Regions from separate parts of the Homo sapiens genome. Here regions 1, 2, 3, 4, 5 and 6 are each linked to region 7. Evidence: promoter capture Hi-C in 16 types of primary human blood cells and fetal thymus (Javierre and others, 2016). All regions are on one chromosome and are shown on one strand. Each heading gives the region's core, a stretch centred on a gene start or on the middle of the fragment in contact. The rest is flanking DNA. Distances are from core to core; before and after follow the strand shown. Region 1 overlaps MCF2L2 (MCF.2 cell line derived transforming sequence-like 2). Region 2 overlaps KLHL24 (kelch like family member 24). Region 3 overlaps KLHL24 (kelch like family member 24). Region 4 overlaps KLHL24 (kelch like family member 24). Region 5 overlaps MCF2L2 (MCF.2 cell line derived transforming sequence-like 2). Region 6 overlaps MCF2L2 (MCF.2 cell line derived transforming sequence-like 2). Region 7 holds the start of MCF2L2 (MCF.2 cell line derived transforming sequence-like 2).

What was found. Contacts are between HindIII fragments. The CHiCAGO score rates a contact against its expected background, and 5 or more counts as called.
Region 1: a contact is called between a fragment that was not itself captured here and the fragment with the promoter of MCF2L2 in region 7, in 7 of 17 cell types (erythroblasts, megakaryocytes, M2 macrophages and 4 more). The highest score is 9.3, in erythroblasts.
Region 2: a contact is called between a fragment that was not itself captured here and the fragment with the promoter of MCF2L2 in region 7, in 2 of 17 cell types (M2 macrophages and M1 macrophages). The highest score is 5.7, in M2 macrophages.
Region 3: a fragment that was not itself captured here is called in contact with the fragment with the promoter of MCF2L2 in region 7 in 1 of 17 cell types (M1 macrophages); the score reaches 5.1 in M1 macrophages.
Region 4: a contact is called between a fragment that was not itself captured here and the fragment with the promoter of MCF2L2 in region 7, in 2 of 17 cell types (M1 macrophages and M2 macrophages). The highest score is 6.4, in M1 macrophages.
Region 5: a fragment that was not itself captured here is called in contact with the fragment with the promoter of MCF2L2 in region 7 in 7 of 17 cell types (M1 macrophages, M2 macrophages, endothelial precursors and 4 more); the score reaches 11.6 in M1 macrophages.
Region 6: a contact is called between a fragment that was not itself captured here and the fragment with the promoter of MCF2L2 in region 7, in 1 of 17 cell types (M1 macrophages). The highest score is 5.1, in M1 macrophages.

Annotation. Positions count from the first base shown.
Region 1 is chr3:183,179,306-183,182,097 of GRCh38, forward strand. It overlaps MCF2L2 (MCF.2 cell line derived transforming sequence-like 2), which reads right to left. Exons shown (of 30, transcript NM_015078.4): 28 at 766-854; 29 at 272-387; 30 at 1-198. The coding sequence ends at 75. Among named protein-coding and RNA genes, the nearest start is that of LAMP3, 18 kb to the left of the region's middle. RefSeq lists a silencer at 1-45. The HindIII fragment of the contact is 8,037 bases long and covers 1-2,792 here.
Region 2 is chr3:183,680,958-183,683,657 of GRCh38, forward strand. KLHL24 (kelch like family member 24) reads left to right here. Exons shown (of 8, transcript NM_017644.3): 8 at 1-2,700. Among named protein-coding and RNA genes, the nearest start is that of YEATS2, 15 kb to the right of the region's middle. The HindIII fragment of the contact is 3,164 bases long and covers 1-2,700 here.
Region 3 is chr3:183,661,774-183,664,623 of GRCh38, forward strand. It overlaps KLHL24 (kelch like family member 24), which reads left to right. Exons shown (of 8, transcript NM_017644.3): 4 at 1,685-1,869. Among named protein-coding and RNA genes, the nearest start is that of KLHL24, 28 kb to the left of the region's middle. The HindIII fragment of the contact is 991 bases long and covers 813-1,803 here.
Region 4 is chr3:183,639,792-183,642,671 of GRCh38, forward strand. The region is part of intron 1 of KLHL24 (kelch like family member 24); the gene reads left to right. Among named protein-coding and RNA genes, the nearest start is that of KLHL24, 5.6 kb to the left of the region's middle. The HindIII fragment of the contact is 1,399 bases long and covers 622-2,020 here.
Region 5 is chr3:183,196,591-183,199,290 of GRCh38, forward strand. All of the region lies in intron 25 of MCF2L2 (MCF.2 cell line derived transforming sequence-like 2), which reads right to left. Among named protein-coding and RNA genes, the nearest start is that of LAMP3, 35 kb to the left of the region's middle. The HindIII fragment of the contact is 1,794 bases long and covers 432-2,225 here.
Region 6 is chr3:183,214,234-183,216,933 of GRCh38, forward strand. MCF2L2 (MCF.2 cell line derived transforming sequence-like 2) reads right to left here. Exons shown (of 30, transcript NM_015078.4): 22 at 1,736-1,861. Among named protein-coding and RNA genes, the nearest start is that of B3GNT5, 38 kb to the right of the region's middle. The HindIII fragment of the contact is 793 bases long and covers 1,015-1,807 here.
Region 7 is chr3:183,427,156-183,429,912 of GRCh38, forward strand. MCF2L2 (MCF.2 cell line derived transforming sequence-like 2) reads right to left here and starts at 1,464. Exons shown (of 30, transcript NM_015078.4): 1 at 747-1,464. The coding sequence starts at 822. RefSeq lists a silencer at 1,214-1,293. The HindIII fragment of the contact is 2,747 bases long and covers 735-2,757 here.

The DNA of each region.
Region 1 (2,792 bases), core at 64-2,563, 250 kb before region 7:
CCCGGGCCCCCACACCGCCTCTCCCGGGAATGCGGGCGCTCTGGAGCCGAGGAGCGGGGGCGTCCGCAGGGAGGTCAGCTCTCCTGGGCGGAGGTCCTCGGGCGCAGCGCCCTCGCCTGGAAACCAGCCGTCGCCCCCGCAGGAGCCAGCCGGCCCGTGGACGCCCCAGCGCGCTCCTCCTCGGTGCTGCGGGTCGCCCTGCAATTCCGAGAAGAAAGTCAGAGACGCCGTGGCCCAAAGAGGCGCTTAGTCTTTCCTCGCTCACACTCACGTTTCCTCCTCATCGCGTTCTTCTTTTTCTCCCTGGCTGCTTTCTCCCCTCTCCAGGAAAGCAGATTTGGAGGAACAGGTTTCGTGACTGTCGTCCGACTGGAAAAGGCCCGCGAGCTGGAAGGGAGGGGACGGGTGCACCCTCAGAGTTATTGCTGGAGGCTGTGGCCAGACCGGGCAAGGTGGTGACTCCCGCTGGCAGGCTGAGGCCCACCCCAGCCCTCCCACCTGGGCCACGGGGCTCTCAGCGGGAGCCCCAGTTATGACCGGACACCAGCGCACCGCCAAGGAGACAGCCACGTGGGGACATGCTGGACTAGGAGGGTCAGAGCCAGTTTGAGGGTCTGGTGACCTCGGCTCCCTGGCTTAACCAGGTCCTTATGGGTGAGAATCCTGAGGAGGGGGAGAGGGATGGAGGCTAGGGACAGGAGGCAGGAGGAGCTGATGAATAGGAAGGAGGGAAGAAGATGAAAGAAACAAAAGGGAAGTAATTACACTCAGAGCACTGCTCTCCTTTTCCATGTCTTCTGCGCCTTCACAGTCTTCAAAGGTGTCCATGGAGCTAAACTCCCTGCTGGAGCAGCCTTAGGGAGAGAAAGGGAAGGATGGGGCCTCTGTGGGGTGGGAGGACATCCCCTCTGCCCATGGCAGGGTGTAGCAGGCAGTGCCTGTTGCAGGCACGGTCCTCCCCATCTCTAACTCCTGCTCTCCAAGGGCCTGCACTGCGCTGGGCTGTGAGGGGGTCTGTGATCTCCAGGCTGCTTTTCCAGCGCCGAGATGCCGTAATTCACCGAGAAGGCGCGTCCACATGCTGTTCATGGCCCTACCTCCCCGTTCCTCCAAGAAAACAGTCATTGTTTTTTGTGTTTGCCAGTCTTCTAACCACGCCTCCTTCCCTTCCTCCTCCCCTGTCTCTTTCTCACCCTCCCCTCCTTGCCTCCTTTTCTCTCCCCTAATTAATGTCCATTTCCCATCTCCCTGGCAGCCTCTGCCAAGTGTCACTGCTCCCCATAAGGGAAAATCAGAGGAACAAGCAAGTGCATCCATCCTGCCTCTCTCTGCAGTGAACTGATTAATTAATCCATCAGTCTTGTCTATGGCGCACATGTTACATCCCTGGGGCGGTGTTGGACACTGTGGGGAACAGCAGCCACTGCCAAATACTGAACAACTGCCCTGTGCCTGGTGGTATGTTAGGCATTTGTCAAAGTTTAAGCCTCACAACCCTGTAAGGGTCTCAGCCCCCTTTACAGTTGGGGAAACAGACAGCAATGGTCACTTGGCCAAGTCCTCTTGGCCTGTGGCAGGGCAGCTGTCTTCTCCAGCACTCCTGCTCTTTACCCTCGCTCTGAGTGAGATGGAGTCTCTGCCCCACATGGCTCACAAGCCAGGGTAGGGAGCAGAGCATCTGCAGAAAGGTCCCAACACAGGACAGCCCCAGACCGAGGGTCAGCTGAGTAGTCTACGCGGCGGGAGCCGTGCTAGGAAAGTGTCTGCTCAGGCGAGAATTCAGGGAGGTTTGGGCAGGACTTGAGGGGCAGACAGGACTGGAGAGGGAGGGCATTCTGGGCAGAGGCATGGCCAGAGGGCGGTAGGCGGCAGTGGAGGGAGCTGCAGTTATCTGGGTGAGCAGGCAGCACAAGTAGCGTCTCCTGGGCTGCTGCCCCAAGCCCCCAACAAGCCACGTTCTGGGCCCCAGGCCCTCCCCAGAGCAGATCAGTGGGGGCTGTGTGAGTAACATGGGGGCGGGGGGGCAGCTGGGCAGCACCTCCCTGGAGGCCCCTCTGAAATCCTGCCTGACTCTGGCAGGCTCCGAGGGGGCTGGACACCCTCCTCTCAGGTTGAAGCAAGTCCTGGTTGAGTTCCTAGTCCCAGGAGGTGGGAGGGGCAAGGGGTGGAGGGCAGAGGAGAAACTGCCTCAGGGATGTGCCCCCTGCCTTCATCCTCCAGACAGGACTTGGGAGCATCTAAGGAAACCCAAGACTCCTCTTTAGAGAAGTCATCCAGCCCTGGGGTCCCCTTATGCCAGGAGCAAGCAGTGAGAATGGAAGAATGATTGTCTTGCTGAAAGTTCTGTGATGGAGGGATAGAGGGACAGAGGGAGCCATGCCCTTGACCATCCCCTGCATGAATAGGAAGGGCTGTGTCTCCAGGGTCCATGGCCTCTGTGCCCCGGATGATGCCAGGGCTGCTAGGGACCATAGAGCCACCCACTGGGAGGCTGGCGGTTGGGCCTGGCTCAGGAGCCTTCGTCAGCCATAGGCAGCCACAGCCTGGGGTGGGCAGGGCTGGGAGGCGACACAGGAACTGAAAAACCTGACAAGCTCTAGCCCCTCCGCAGGGTAAGTGGTACCTCCAGGTAAAATGATTAGTTGGTTCCAGCCCCTCTGCAGGGTAAGTGGCACCTGGGGTAAAATGACTGCCTGGAGCTGGCAGCTGCTTTCCCTGCTCTCGCGGGCCCTGCAGGGAAGCGGGGAAGGGAAGGGGGCACAGCGCTGGGCACAGAGGGGCTCTCAGACCCT
Region 2 (2,700 bases), core at 27-2,526, 250 kb after region 7:
ATTTTAGAATGATTCAGAGATTTCAGATAGACATTTTTTAAACTTTAATGCTTAGCTAGAATCTACATTCTGAGGAAAACTCTAAAAAACTTAAAAATTTTTAGGGAATTTTTATTTTTCAAATCATAATTTTAAAATGATAGATACCATTTTGTGATAACAACAATTCAGAAAACAATTTTCTATCCTCTTAGTTGAAAGAATGTAGGTACAGTTTGGATACTTGTACTTTAATTTTAGAGTAAACATCTGCATTATACTCTTATAGATAATAGAATTATTTAGTTAAGAAATTCTTTACAGTAAATGAGATAATGTGTGAAAAAGTATTTTGTAAATGCTGAGGATTCTACAAATGATAGTTGTTATTTTCATGTGTATTTGTAAGATCATGTCCATTTCATGAATATAGGACTTCACATAAAAAAAGACTTTCTCAAGACAACTTTATATTCTAGTATTTTTCTGTTGTAAAAAGTATTAACTATTTACTTTTATTTTGTTATACATTTATTTTAATATCCATGTGTTTATTATAGTAAATTTGAAATGAAATCCTGAAAAACAGAATTTTTTTAAACACAGACCTCACACCAATATTAATTTTTTCTCTACATAATTTAAAACTACATAAATTAAGTACTTAAAATTTATATTGAAGGCCACCAAGAACTTAGGTTGAATCTTAGAAAATTTAAATAACTATTTTTAAAGTTACCCAACTTAATATTTTAATTTTTTAATATTTATCTTCCTTTACTAATTCTTGATAAATAATAGCATTAGACTTGATAAAATAAAAAAGAATTTTAGAGTAGAATTAATATATCAAAAGGGGTATATCAACCAAATTGGTGTCAGATTGTATTCATTCTCTCATCACATAAAGATTTTTCTTTTGATAGGTGATGCTCATATGAACCTTTGGTTTAGAATCTATATATGTACATGTGTATGTATGTAGATAGTATGGTTGTATACACACATATATACCAAACACCATGAATTTTAGCAGTCTGTGATGATCAGCAAAAAAGCACATAAAGTAAAAATTAGTTGACCATGCTAAATTCAATTCTGGAATTTTTTTTTATTTGGGCATTTCTAGAACTTTTTACATTTGAAAGTACATGATGAGTATTAGTAACGATGACTTATGTATAATCAGAATCTTTATGACAATTTAGTTTTACAAGGTCAGAAGAGATGAGTTTGCTAAACCCAGCTGTGATACCTCAGTTGGAAAGGGAATTCAAAGGTATGCTTTGTAGAACAGAAAAGTATAGTTTTTTTTTCATGAACTTTAATCATTTTCTGTTTTTCCTCTATGTGAGTCAGCTACAAAAGTGGTCTAATTTTTACAACAGTAGAACTTCCTCCTTTTCTACTGTAATCTTCCCACTGACTTTACTGCACAGGTATGAAATACTAGTGTATTGGATCTTCAGTAACCTTTTTATTTCCTAGATGATTGAAATATAGGTATTTACTCCATTTAAACCAGGTGATAAGATGATGTAAATACTCAGGGAGGGTATTAACTTGTTACTTTTGCTCGTTTGGGGTGTAAAGTGCCATGACTGAATAATCTTCAATTCATGATTCTAGAGTAAGTTTAATTTGGAAAAAGGGGCTTCACACATGGTGGTGGTTGAACATTGATTCTTTTATACTTAAAAAGATGAAAATGTTTTGTGGACTGATACATTTTATCTTACTGAATATGAATTGTTTATGTATCTCTACTGTCAAATAGCCTTTTTGAAACTCAGGAAAGACAAAGGTTCAATTACACCACTTTTGTCAATAAGCAAACCAGGTATTTTTTTTTTCTCCTGTTGTCTGGATATGGCAATAGATTTTTTAAATTGCTGTGAGAACCCATATATGAAAAGAGAGGAGTTGAATTGTGTGTGCCTTTTATGTCTTGAGATTTATATGTGGAAAAGACGACATCTACTTCAAACTGTATTTTTTTCGTTTTTTTTTTTTTTTGGGGAAGGGGGGAGAACGGGGTCTTGCTCTGTCGCCCAGGCTGGAGTGCAGTGGCGCGATCTCAGCTGACTGCAACCTCCACCTCCCGGGTTCAAGGGATTCTGCCTCAGCCTCCCGAGTAGCTGAGACCACAGGTGCGTGCCACCACACCCGGCTAATTTTTTTGTATTTTTAGTAGAGACGGGGTTTAGTAGAGACGGATCACTCCTGACCACGTGATCCGCCCACCTCGGCCTCCCAAAGTGCTGGGATTACAGGCGTGAGCCACCACCCCCGGCCTGTATTTTCAGAGAGGAGAGCTTGGTGTTTTTGTGGTGCCAAGTGGTAAGATAATGTCTCTTTGAGGCTTCCTATGGACTGCCTTTATTTTAGTAAACTCAAGACACCAGTTAACCTCAACAGAGTTTTGGCCTTATTAGAATTTGTTGTGCATCTTATTGAAAGCCAGGTTTACATCACCTCACCCCATTATTCTTTTTAGTTAAATAAATTTACCATGCCAAGTAACCAGAATGGAGCAAATTGGTTGATCTTTAAGGCAGTAGGTTTGACTAGCTAGCTATCATTATTGTCACATCTAATGCTAGGCACCAGAAACCATTTGAGCCAGGAGTGTGAATGAATAATTCCAGAGACACTTTAGACATTTTTTAATGTTTTATATGAACATTTTACATTTGTGTGATTGCCTTAGATATTAAATTT
Region 3 (2,850 bases), core at 58-2,557, 230 kb after region 7:
ATAAGGAAAGGATAAAACAAAATCCTATGATATATAATCATTACTCTGGATTTTATATTAAGACAGAAGTGATTTAACTTCAGTGACTAGCAGTGTTTGTTTTGATTGATTAATAAATAAGACTTTGAGGAATATCACCTTTTTTGAGGATTTGTCTTAGATTTTAAGTGTGTTTTAGGAAATACTTATATGGAAAGAATGATAGATAAGTCAGTAGTTATACTACTAAAGTATCTGGTGCTGTGCTCTCTTTATTTTTAATACTTTTATTTTGGAATTACTTGGAAAATAGTAAATATTACTGATAATATTTAGGTCCTTCTGTTAATGTTTTACTAAATACTAGGTAAAGGTTATATAATTTCCTGGATTCCTAAAAGTACTTTTGTTTGCATGTATAGAGAAAATTCTTTTCTCCCATATTTATTTCTGATTTTATAACGGAAAAAGTATGCCTGGCATAGAATAGGTACGTGATTTGGTTAGTTGACATAGGTCTGAGTAAATGTAGCTAGAACAGCTCTGTTAAAAGAGACACGCCAATATTGCTTGTTTTTTCCTACTGTAATTGTGTAACAGCACACTGACTAAAATTACAAATCAGTGTCCTGATGTGGGTTTTTTTTTCCCCTCTATAAGTAAGAGAAGAAGGATTGTTGGCATTTTTCTTTGTGAGACTTAACTTGTAGCAACCATAAAATGTAACTATAAAACATTTTCATTTAGATTATATTTGTGAAAAATATAAAAGCTAAAGAATTTTAAAATTCCTAAACTATCAATTGAATTTTATGAACAAAAAATTGTGGATAAGCTTTTGGTTATTCCTGTCTCTATTTTAAATCTAAAAAATGAGAGAAGCCAGTGATTAACAGAAACATTAGAATTCTTTTAGTGGTGTTAAATGCTGTTTTTTGCATTCTAAAAATAGCTCAGGCTCATTATTGGTTTGGAAATTTGTAATGATAGAAATGGGGGGAGCCAAACAATTCAGAGACAACTATCTTTAGCATTTTGGTATATTCTTTCCAGATACATTTTTTAGATAGTATTGAATATGCCTAATGTACAGTTTTTCATCTTGCTTTTCTCCTTTAACATTCTTGTTATAAACTGTTAGCCTTTTTAGTGATTGCCCAACATTTTGAGTTGTATTACCTTAATTTACTTGACTTTGTATTTTAAAAACTAATTTCTGAACAAGTACATATACATATTCCTTTAAAGGGTGCTTGGATTATACTATGAATTAGTTTTTTAGAACTAGCAAGCTGATGAAAGAGCACCATTTTCCTACAGTTAGAAAAAAATGCATTATCTTACCTTGTGTGGTTATGCGTATCTGAATCACTGCAAAACTGCATTTGAAAGTCATCCTTAATATTGCCAGGATTCTGATTGGGTTAGATAGGATCTTTGGACTTTTTTACAATTTTCAGGTCAAAACCAATAGAAAAAAATAGCAACAGAAATTTTCTGTGGAATAATGATGTCACTAGCTCCCCTATAAACGTTCTCAAAGTAAGTAATTTCCAGGCTGTACCGTTTGGCACATGCACAGAGAAGAAACTTAACTGTTTATAATAGTGCGTGGTTTGTTTTTAGAGTTTTAAGAAAAAATCTGGAGTATATTTTAATGTAATATTATTATATTATTTATGTACGCTAATAATTATTATTTTAGGTCCACTGGCTATTCTGAGGTGATAGTTGTCGTTGGAGGATGTGAGCGAGTTGGAGGATTTAATCTTCCATACACTGAGTGCTACGATCCTGTAACAGGAGAATGGAAGTCTTTGGCTAAGCTTCCAGAATTTACCAAATCAGAGTATGCAGTCTGTGCTCTAAGGAATGACATTCTTGTTTCAGGTAAATATAGAATTATTACAGTAGCTACTTTTAATTTGGACACAGCTTCATTATTTTAAACATCAACAGTGTCTTAAAATAGTGAAATGTGAATACTCCCACTTGAGGAAGATCAGTTTACAACAAATAAAACCAAGAATGACTTTTTGCTCTTAAAAACAGGTACAAGGCCAGGCGCGGTGGCTCACGCCTGTAATCCCAGCACTTTGGGAGGCCGAGGCAAGCAGATCACCGGGTCAGGAGATCGAGACCATCCTGGCCAACATGGTGAAACCCCATCTCTACTAAAAAATACAAAAATTAGCCAGGTGTGGTAGTGGGCAACTGTAGTCCCAGCTACTCAGGAGGCTGAGGCAGGAGAATCACTTGAACTCGGGAGGCGGAGATTGCAGTAAGCCGAGATCGCGCCACTGCACTCCAGCCTGGTGACAAAGCAAGACTCCGCCTCAAAAACAAAAAACAAACAAAAAGCAACAACAAAAAAAACACAGGTACAAGATGACATGGAATGATTTACAAAAGATCCACCAGAAGATACCTTTAATCATGTCATATTTTAAATGCTCTCAAATGCATGTAGAATATGCTGTAATTTTTTAAACTTTACCTCTTTGCAAGTCAGAAGTACTCATAGAATTAAGCATTTCTAATTCACCCATGTTTTCTGAAATTCTCCGCAAAGTTTATGAAATAAGATTTGCTTTAAAATTCTTAACTTGAACTTCTTTATGATTGTGATATGTTACCTTTAAAATTAGAAAATAAAATGACAGACTTGTACAAAGTATAACTATAGTATCTATGATGGGAAGTCTGTTAATTGGTAAAATAATTTCACCAGCTTTGCAGATTATTATATATATTATCCACACTGAGAAATATAACAATACATACTTTATTTTTTACAATAGTATGCTTTTTGAAAAATCGGTCAATTAAAAAAAAAACCTTTAGAATAATACCATTATTTGCGTGCTTCTG
Region 4 (2,880 bases), core at 71-2,570, 210 kb after region 7:
TCAGGAGTTCGAGACCAGCCTGGCCAACATAGTGAAACCCCCATCTCCACTAAAAACCAAACAAACAAACAAACCCAGAAAATATTAGCCTGGTGTGGTAGCACGCTCCTGTAATCCCAGCTACTCGGGAGGCTGAGGCAGGAGAATCACTTGAACCCGGGAGGTGGGGGTTGCAGTGAGCCAAGATTGTGCCACTGCACTCAATCCTGGGTGACAGAGCGAGACTCCATCTCAATAAATAAATAACCAAAACCATTTTTCTAACAGAAAACATAACTATATCATATATCTATAGGTGTTTTGATTATCAAATAAAACAATGCATTAAATACCTAAAAGAAACATGTTAGCAAGATAAAACCAAACAACAGTAAATTTACACATCAAGTCTAGTCAGAAGCATGAGTAGGCTCAATAGGGCAGCTTGGTATACCACGTGTGATGTCTGATGGTTAACAAGTTTTTTTCTTCCTTTAGGGTTGGGGAATATCAGTAGCCAGAAGTTTTAAGTCGAGGGAGAGAAACACTGGAGAAATTCATATTTTTTTTCCTGTGATTTAAGAGACAATAGTATTCTTTTTTAGTTAAAGAACCATATTGTTTAGTCTGACACATTGTTTAAGCTTTCCTAAATTTGTCATCAACAGCTATCTGTTTTGTTTCTCATCAAGCAAAGTCATATAGTATATTGCCCATTTGAGGTTCTAATAAATATGGGGTAATCCATAGTTGCTATCATTCTATCCAAAGAAACTCAAGGTTTTAGTTGGTTTCTGTTACCTTTTCTTTTTTTTCTTTTTTCTTTTTTCTTTTTTTTTTTTTTTTTGAGACAGAGTCTTGCTCTGTCGCCCAGGCTGGAGTGTGATGGTGCCATCTTGGCTCACTGCAACCTCCGCCTCCTGGGTTCAAGCATTTCCGCTGCCTCAGCCTCCTGAGTAGCTGGGATTACAGGTGCCCGCCACCACACCCGGCTAATTTTTTTGTATTTTTAGTAGAAACGGGGTTTCACTATGTTGGCCAGGCTGGTCTCGAACCCTTGACCTCGTGATCCGCCTGCCTCAGCCTCTCAAAGTGCTGGGACTGCAGGCGTGAGCCACCTCGGCCAGCCAGTTTCTGTTATCTTGTGGTGGGTAAATATGGTCTTGGTGGTTCCATTAAGAAACTGGAAATGTTGAAAATAGCTTGAAGGCTGGGCTTTAAACATTACATTTGTAAAACATGGTCCAGGAACCACTGCTGCAGAGTAATTCTTTAAACTGAAATTTTGATAGTGCAAGTTTATGATTTTTAAAAAGTCATCAAATAAATTAGCTTTTGAGACTATAGGGTGAAAATATCTGAAATGTATAAAAATTGCTTGGTTTTGTATAGTACCTTATTATATATGATTTTCTGGTTATTTTTTAAATAAAAGATGTACTGGCCGGGCACAGTGGCTCACGCCTGTAATCCCAGAACTTTGGGAGGTCGAGGCGGGTGGATCACAAGGTCAAGAGATCGAGGCCATCCTGGCCAACATGGTGAAACCCCGTCTCTACTAAAAATACATGGTGGCGCACACCTGTAGTCCCAGCTACATGGGAGGCTGAGGCAGGAGAATCGCTTGAACCCAGGAGGTGAAGGTTGCAGTGAGCCGAGATCATGCCACTGCACTCCAGCCTGGCAACAGAGTGAGACTGTCTCAAAAAAAAAAAAAAAAAAAAGATTTACTATATTGCAATTATTTTCTGACTTTCTTTCTTTTGAGTTACTATATATCTTTCAAGATAAACCTCTTGGTTAACCTTTCTTTTCATCTCCTGTGGTGTTCTTTCAAGGTTAAATTTGAGAAAATGGAGTAGCGTAGAACATAGTATGCAGCAGTTCTCTACTACAAGTTTTAGGGGCCATGCTAGTCAGGATGTTGTTGGTTCCTTTGTTTTCTGGTATTAGTTTTTAGAAGCCCCTCATTAATCCATACTATCTTTAAGGATGTTAGTAACCTCATCGTATAGAATTTCTGCATTCTAAAGGAAACATAAGCTTGTTTCAGTACACTCACGCTGTAGATTAATTCTGATATTACATATCTCCATCAGACTTTGTACCCTCTCTCTTCCATCCCTTACCCTTACCGATTAGGTTGGTATTACCTAAAAATCCATAGAAAATGTCCAGGTGAATTGCCTTATGCTTTCTACCCCATAAGGTATAATTCTAGACCAGATCGGTTATGAGAGGCTCTATTCCAGTCTGCACCTGCTAAGAATTTGAATCTATTTTAGTACCAATCTTGGAGTTCTTGTTTGGCTCTACTCTTAGCCAACCCCACAGAGTCTAAAATTGGATCTGAATCCAGTATTTGCCAGCCAGTGACAGACATAAACTAGGTTCTTTATAAATGTTTCATGAATTGACCTGCATCCCTGCATTGATTCAGGATCTTATTGTCCATTGGGAAGGAAGATTTACTTAGCTAGGAGTAACAATTCCCAAATTTGCCCTAGTTGCAATATTTTTTTACCAAGGGTACATACAAGTCAGGTTCACTTCTGAAAGTAAGGAAACACAGGATAGCATTCACTTGATGATCATAACACAGTCTGGGTATACATATGTGTTTGTGTGTATACATTTAAAAAAAAGGTCGTTTATATTTGGTTTTGGAATCAACTTTTGAATTTGTCTAAACTTGTTAAGAATTTACAAGTTCTATTTAAAGATATCTGGGCCAGAAACCAGAACCACTTGTGTTTAAATACTATTGCTATTCTGTACACAGCTCAAGGTTCTGGTATTTTCTCTTAAGCATTCCTCTTCTCCCCTTCCACCAAAAAAAAAAAAAAAAAAAAAAAAAAGGAATTGTGCCGAATTAGTTGGTTTCTATGGGGATATGGGGAT
Region 5 (2,700 bases), core at 79-2,578, 230 kb before region 7:
ATCCACTGTGGGCCCTCTCTAAATTCTTAAAGCCCTTGCCATTTGCATCACTCACAGAGACATTTCATCAGAGCCTACTTGGTGCACCAGGCTCAGGAGACTCAGTTCTGCTGCGGATAAGTTATGTAAAATTGACCCTCTGCTTGCACATCTGTAAAAGGAAGGGGCTGGCACAACACCTCTGGGCCTTTCAGTTCAGTAGTGTTTTCTTTTTATCTAAACCACGTGCTGGGTCCTGGTTTTGCTTCTTATCTAGATTTTTGCATTCCTGTCACAACCTATAAAGCACAGTTCAGGCCTTAAGGAGGGCTTGAGAAATCTCTTTCCGAATTGTCAACTGAATAAGTGTCATATCTTCATAACAAACTTGTCTTTTTTTGCAGGGCCAGGAAGGCAGCAGGGGAGTCAGTTAAAATATAAATTTTAGATTAAGCTTAATATTGTTAAGAAGTCAATTCTCACCAAATTGTTCTAGAGATTTTACATAATCCTAATCAAAATCTCAATAAGGTTTTTTGAGAAGTTGGCAAGCAGATTCTAAAATATATATAGAAGTATAAAGGACACAGAATAATCAAAACAACTTTAAAAAGGAAGAACAAAATTATAGGACTCTAACTACCTCATTTTAAGACTTATTAGAAAGCAGCAGTAACCAAGATAGTGAGGGACTGATGTCAAGGTAGACAAATAGATCAATGGAAAAGAATCAGGCATCCAGAAATAGATGCACTTACATAAATCATCAATTGGAGAAAGAATAGTGTTTTTAACAACTGGCAATGGAAAAACTAGAACATCAGTATGCAAAGGACTGAACTTTGATCCATACCTCACACCACATACAAATCAAAAACAGAAACAAACAAACAAACAAACAAATACTCAAAATGGATCAGAGACCTAAATGTAAAACTATAAAACTTCTGGAAGAAAACACAGGGAGAAAATCTTTATGGCTTTTAGATAACGATTTCTTAGGCAGGATACCGAAAACATGATACATACAGTTTTTAAAATTAAATATTATAAGAATTAAAGTCTTTTGCTCTTCAAAAGTCACTCTTAAGAGAAAAAGATGCCACACACTAGAAGAAAATATTTACAAAGCATTAAAAGGACATATATCTAGGATATACATAAAAACTCTCAAAAGTCAATAATAAGAAAACAATGAGCAAAAGATTTGAACAGACACTTCACCAAAGAAGAGATAAAGATGGCAAAGAAGCACATAAAGAGATGCTCAACCATTAGTTACTAGGGAAAAGCAAATTAAAACCTAATGACATACCACTATGCCCCTATTAGAAATCTGAAAATTTAAAAGACTGACAATACCAAGTATTGGTGAGGACATGGCACAAGTGGAACTCTCATACATTACTATGGGAATGGAAGATACTATAATCACTTTGGAAACTATTTAGAAATTTCCTAAAAAATTAAACATACACCTACCATATGGCCTAACCATTACACTCTTAGGTATTTACCCAAGAGAAATGAAAACACATGTCCACACAAAGACTTGTACTTGCATGTTCATAGCAGCATTATTCAAAATAGCCCCAAAGCAGAAACAAATCGGATGTTCATTAACAAGTAAATGGATAAAGAAAACGGGGTCTAGCCAAACAATGAAATACTACTCAGCAACAACCAAAATATGTACTATTGTTTACAAAATCCAAATAGATGAATCTCAGAATAATTATGCAGAGGAGAGAAGCCAGACCAAAAAAAAAAGTACATAGTGTATTATCTCTTATGAAATTCTAGAAAATGCAAACTAACCTATAGTGACAGAAAGGAGATTGGTGGTCACCTGGGGTGGGTGAGGGAGGGGCAGGAGAAAGGGAATGCAAAGCAGTGTGAACAAACCTTTGGCGGTGATAGGCATGTTCATTATCCTTACTGTGGTGATGCCTTACAGATGTATACAGATGTCAAAACTTATCAGATTGTACACTTTAAATATGTGTGGTTTATCGTGTCATTATACCTCAGTAAAGGAGTTTTAAAAATTGTAGTAAAAGGTCTCTACCTAGAAACCTTAATAAGCTAAAATGTATGTCCCCAGGACTAACCCTAGCTATTCTATAGTTCTGGGGTGGAACCTAGAAATCTGCATTTGTAGCAAGCCCTTCAAATAATTTGAATGCAGGTGGTCCTTAAACCACCCTTTGAGAAACACTGACCTAGTGAGTAAGGATTTCTAAACAAGCTTGTGACTAGAATGTTGTTTCTGCAGGGAACAAGTGACTTTTTCTACTAGAGTTGCCATATCATTCTGTGTTAAGCCTCTAGGACACTCCTACTCAATTACCATGACATATATTTAACATAATATTAATAGTTGTAAAACAAAAGTAAACCATAGTTTTTTTCCCATCTTATCTGTATACAAAGTAAAATCAATGACATAATATTGTTACTAGTTCCTGGCAGTTACCTACAGTTTAAATCAAGAACTTATGTTGCTTGGTTTTTGTGACAGAAAACTGATGTGGTGGCTTTCCAGTTACACTGCTTGGTTTACCTTTTCCCTTATCTTATGATGCACACCCAGCTTTGCACGTTCCTGAGCAGCTGATGATCATAGAAGACCTAGAAAAAGTGTGAGCCAGTTGCATTCCTGCTATCTCTAAAGAAAAAAGTTATCTTTTCATTTTTATGTGATTTTTCTTACCCAAAATG
Region 6 (2,700 bases), core at 161-2,660, 210 kb before region 7:
CTGGATTGACCTAACAAATTGTTCCCTTGACTTTCCTCAGGCGAAGAAAGAAGAATTATTACCAAGAAAATGATCCTTATACACACCCTAACCCTACTCTGCAGTTTATGCATATCCTCTTGAATCATGCATCAGTTGTCATCAGAGACACCTTGGAGTCCCAGGGGACAGTAACAGCATCATGGCTGGGATCACAGCAAACCCCATGGGGCTAAGTTTCTGAGATCCAGGCCCAAGAAATACCAGCGTGGGAAGTAAAAATAACTCATTTTTCGGACCTTAATAACTTTCATGGTTTGATTTATGACAAGGAAAGAAAAGTCATTTCCTCTACCAAGACCTCAATACATGGTATGTTCAAAACCAAATAAAAATGAAAAGAAAAAAAAAGAGAAGGAAAAAGTATAATATAATCACAAGTGACAAAAACGCAGAAGAGGGGGTCACAGAGATGTGATGTAAGAAAAACTTGGCCGGGCACGATGGCTCTCACCTGTAATCCCAGCACTTTGGGAGGCGGAGATGGGTGGATCACGAGGTCAGGAGTTCGAGACCAGCCTGACCAACATGGAGAAGCCCCGTCTCTACTAAAAATACAAAAAAAAAAAAAAATTAGCAAGGTGTGGTGGCAAGTGCCTGTAGTCCCAGCTACTCAGGAGGCTGGGACAGGAGAATCGCTTGAACCTGGCGGGCAGAGGTTGCAGTGAGCTGAGATCATGCCATTACACTCCAGCCTGGGCGACAGAGCAAGACTCTGTCTCAAAAACAAACAAACAAAAAGAAGAAGAACCCAACCTGCCATTGCTGGTTTGTGCTTTATTACCTCTGCTCATAGAAGCCATGAGCCATGGAGCGTGGGTGGCCTTTTTAAGCTGGAAAATTCCAGGAGACAGATGCTAGACTCCAAAAAGGAAAGGAAACACCTTGATTTTAGCCCATGAGACTGTGTTGAACTTCTGACCTTGGAACTTCAAAATAATAATAATAATGAATTTGTGCTGCTCTAAGCCACCAAGCTTATGGTAATTTATTATGACAGTGAAATAAAACAAACACATCTGAATAAAAATCTAGAGTACTTCAAAGTAAAAAACAAAACAAGTCGAATATTAACTATGCTCCAGTCTCAAAGAGATCATACAGTTATAGGGGATGTTTTGCCTGGAATGCCTGGGACCAGCCTGCTCCGGATTAACACTGACGCTGGAGCTCAACTCCCCAGCATTGGCCTCTAACTGCATCTCTTGGGTTTTCTTTAGACTATTTGGATTAATGCATGTACACTATATACTTTTGGGGCCTCTTCTGGGATCTGTGATATAAAATTGGGGCAAGAATATAGGACCTGTTTCCAAAATACTTTTCTTAGAGAAACTCTGAAACAAGAAGACAAATCTTTTACTATTTTAATAGTGCCATGAGTTAGAAAATAAATTGCTCCTCCAGGACTTTTCCTCTGCCCATATATGTTCTGGCCCTTGACTTTCTGGTTTGTCCAGACAGTGGGTCAGTCCCACATTCAGAACCCTGAGGAATAAATCCAAGATTCCTGAAGATGCCAAGGGACAGCTTGGAATCTTGTAGTGCGGGTTTACTGAGCAATTTAGGCGACTGTCCTCAGAGTCCAATTCCTTTACCATAGACGATCTCTCTGACTTTGCCAGAGCATTTCCTCACTGTGTAGTATTGCACCTGCCTTTTGTGTGAGATGCTCTAACACTACTATGGAACATACCGGACATTCAGTCACTGCTGCTAGGTCCACAGCCAACTCACAGGACTTGATCAAATCCTCTATCACTGCCAAAGCTTGTTGTAGTTCAGTTGAGAATGCTGAATCTTTGGTTCTCTTTGGCCCATCCTGTGGAAAACAAATGCCTTGTTGGAAATCAAAAGTATACCATCTGCAAAGTGAAGAAGGAAAACAGGACAGAGATGAGGAGCCAGGGATCCAGCCAACCCTGACTGAGAAGGGTGGATATTGATCTGTCTCCCTGCTCCCAAAGCATGGTGGCTAAAGATGCTTACTGATTTAGGTATACGGCATAGAGACAAGCAAAATCATCTACCTCTGTGCATTGTACTAGTGACGAATGAAGTTCATAAATCATGGAAATTATATTCCTGCTACATAAGAAACATATAGAATTCAGCTATATAGCTGAATTCTATATGTTTCTTATGTGTATATATATTATATAAATATTTATATAGTATATTAAATATTTATATATTAATATATAATTATATGTTTATATATTAATTATATATATTAAATATTTATATATTATATATTATATAAAATATAAGTATATATATTATATATATATATATATATATATATATATTTTTTTTTTTTTTTTTTTTTTTTTTTTTTTTTTTTGAGAGCGAGAGAGAGTTTCACTCTGTCACCCAGGCTGGAGTGCAGAGGCACGATCTCGGCTCGCTGCAACCTCTGCCTCCTGGATTCAAGCAATTCTCCTGTCTCAGCCTCCCGAGTAGCTGGGATTACAGGTGTGCGCCACCATGCCTGGCTAATTTTTGTATTTTTAGTAGAGACGGAGTTTCGCCATGTTGACCAGGCTGTTCTCAAACTCCTAACCTCAGGTGATCCACCCACCTTGGCCTCCTAAAGTGCTGGGATTACAGGCGTAAGCCACTGTGCCTGGCCAGAATTTAGCTTTTTTAAAGCATGGAAAA
Region 7 (2,757 bases), core at 214-2,713:
TCCAGGGAAGGCCAAGGGGAAGAAAGTGCTAAGAAAAAACTGACTGGGAACTGTCTCAATGTCCTCTTGCCCTTACTTAGTCTGTGGGGCCTGACGTTCCATCACAACCCTTATTTCAGGAGCAAGCAATGCATGTTTTGCTCCTCTTTTCAACTCAGGGAAGAAGATTAAAATTGCTCAGTCTCCTTGGCTTGCAGAGATTTCTCGCGGGGATCATCAGGGGTGTGCTTAACCCTCCAGGCAGCACAGTAAAACAGGCCTAGCGGCCGAGCTGCGCAGGGGCGCTCCCATGTAACCTGCCTCTCCCTGCACTTTCTTATAAACAAGCCTTCAGTGGCGTGGCAATCATTTCTGCTGAAAAGCACTGGCATTCGTTCCTCTTATGCCCTCTCCTTTCTCACTATCCCCAAAACCAGAACATAACTTCCCACCCACCCTACTCCCGTCAGAAGCAGCTAACGGATGGTAACAGCCCAGCAGCCCTCGGTTTGGAGCTCAACGGACTCGGCAACCACCTGGTGAAGGCACCAGCCTCGGCCCCCCGACCCCCACCAGCGGCGCGCCCCAGGGATGCCCCCCGCTGGGCACCGCAGGCAGGACCCAGAGCAGCGAGGCCCAGATGCCGGGCAACCCCCCAGGAAGCGCGCTGCCCCGGGGCAGCGGGTGAGGCCAGGAGCCAGATGAAGCCCAGAGACCATCCTCACCCGCCATTAATAAAACGCAGGAAAAATTAAAGCTTCGTTTACCGACATGAGTGATCACTGTGGCCAGTCGCCGGGTGAGCTCCTGGGGAGGCATCTCTTCTTTTAAGCAAGACAGCATTTCACTGAAAAACCATTCCGTATAAATAAAGCCAAACAAAACTGTTTCTACCGCTGCGGTGGATGATTTTTTAAAGGCATCTCCGCCCAAGGATGCTCTGCCCTCGCCCTCTTCCTGGCTCTCCAGGCAAGAAACGAGAGTCCCTCGCAGCCTAGGCCAGCTCTCCCTCGCCACGCCCCGCGGGGGCTCCCGTGACAGACCAAGTCTGGCGCTTTCCCAGCGTCGCAGCTGGACCGAGAGAGGAGCGGCCGTTCTGCAAAAGGAAGCAAGTCGCCAATCTCGCCGGAACCGCGCCCCGGCTCCTCCGGCCGGGCGAGCTCCGGGGCTTCCAGAATCGCGGTCCCGGCCGCCAGGTTTCCGGCGCCGCCTCCAGGGACTGTAGAGTGAGGGATGCTCCGCCAGGTGCAGGGGAGGCGGCAGGTGGCCGTGGCTTCTCTGCGCCGCCGGCCCCACGCCCCAGCGCCCACCTCGTCCAGCCCACGGGTGGCGCCCGGGGCTCTCGGGGAGGCACGCACGCTCCCAAGCGCCGCTCGTTTTGGGGTCGGGAACGCTGCGCACCTTTCCCTGCGGGGAGCCCGCGCTCCACCCCCGGAGTGGAGCTCCGGTCCTTACTCGGAACCGTGGGGCGGGGAGACAGTGACTGAGGCGCTCCAGTCGCACCGGGGTCCGGATCATCAGACGCGCGCCGGCCAGGTCTCCGCCCCTCCTTCTTCCGCGCCGGGTGTCTGCGGAGGAGCCGCGGAGAGAAGGGGGCTGGCCCGGAGAGCTGCCGCCATCCGGCAGGACCCGGAGCGGGAGGCTGGGTGAGGCGCCGCTGCTTGCCCCACCTCCTGACCCCGGGGGCGGCTGGCGTGTGTTTTCCCCCACTTGGGGTTGTTCCACGCAGTTCTTGACCTCCGCTGGCCACACCTGCACTGGGAGCCCGGCGCCCGGGCTGCGCTCCGACAAGGCTGAGCACGCGTGGGCGCGCTCACCCCCTATGTGGGCGTTTTCCTTCGTGCAGCTGCGCCCTTGCCTCTGCTCCGTCTGTCACCTGTCAGGCACGCCAGTGCTACCTTCTGGAGGGGCTGTGGCACATCCTCCATGCTGGTCCTCCTCCCCATCAGCCCATTATCCCGTGGTTTCCCTAGTTGGGCCCAGACACTTTCTGACTGGCAGCAAAAGACTAACCCCAGTTCAGCAGAGCGCTACGGGAAACGCCTGAGCAAATGCGAATTCGGTCAGGTTGTCCCCCAATCCTTTCTACAGCGGGAGTCCCTGAATACTCAGCAGGCGGAATGGCGGGACCACCCAGGCGGATGTTCTCAGCCATCTCTTTCCTCTTCGATATGTAAAAAGCCAAGCCGCAAACACCCTGGATCCAAATTCTAGGAGTAGCCACCCATCACAGGGGGCTGAGGGTATTTTTTTAATGCTTTCTCTTTTCTTCTTTTTTTTGGAGACTGAGTCTGGCTCTGTCGCCCAGGCTGGAGTGCAATGGCGCGATCTCAGCTCACTGCAAGCTCCGCCTCCCGGGTTCACGCCATTCTCCTGCCTCAGCCTCCCGAGTAGCTGGGACTACAGGCGCCCGCCACCACGCCCGGCTAATTTTTTGTATTTTTTAGTAGAGATGGGGTTTGTTTCACCGTGTTAGCCAAGGATGGTCTCGATCTCCTGACCTCGTGATCCGCCCACCTTGGCCTCCCAAAGTGCTGGGATTACAGGCGTGAGCCACCGCGCCCAGCCCTTTTTAATGCTTTCTCTAACAATTGTGGGCTGTGATTGAGAAGCGAGGTCAGTTCACCTGTGTCATGAGATTTGTGGAGAGGTTCTTCCCCCTGTGAAGTTTGGGCACTTTGCACTCTGCCTGCAAAACAGAGCAAGGATTTTCTTTTTCTTTTCTTTCTTTTTTTTTTTTTTCGTTTTTAGAGATGGAGTTTCACCATATTGCCCAGG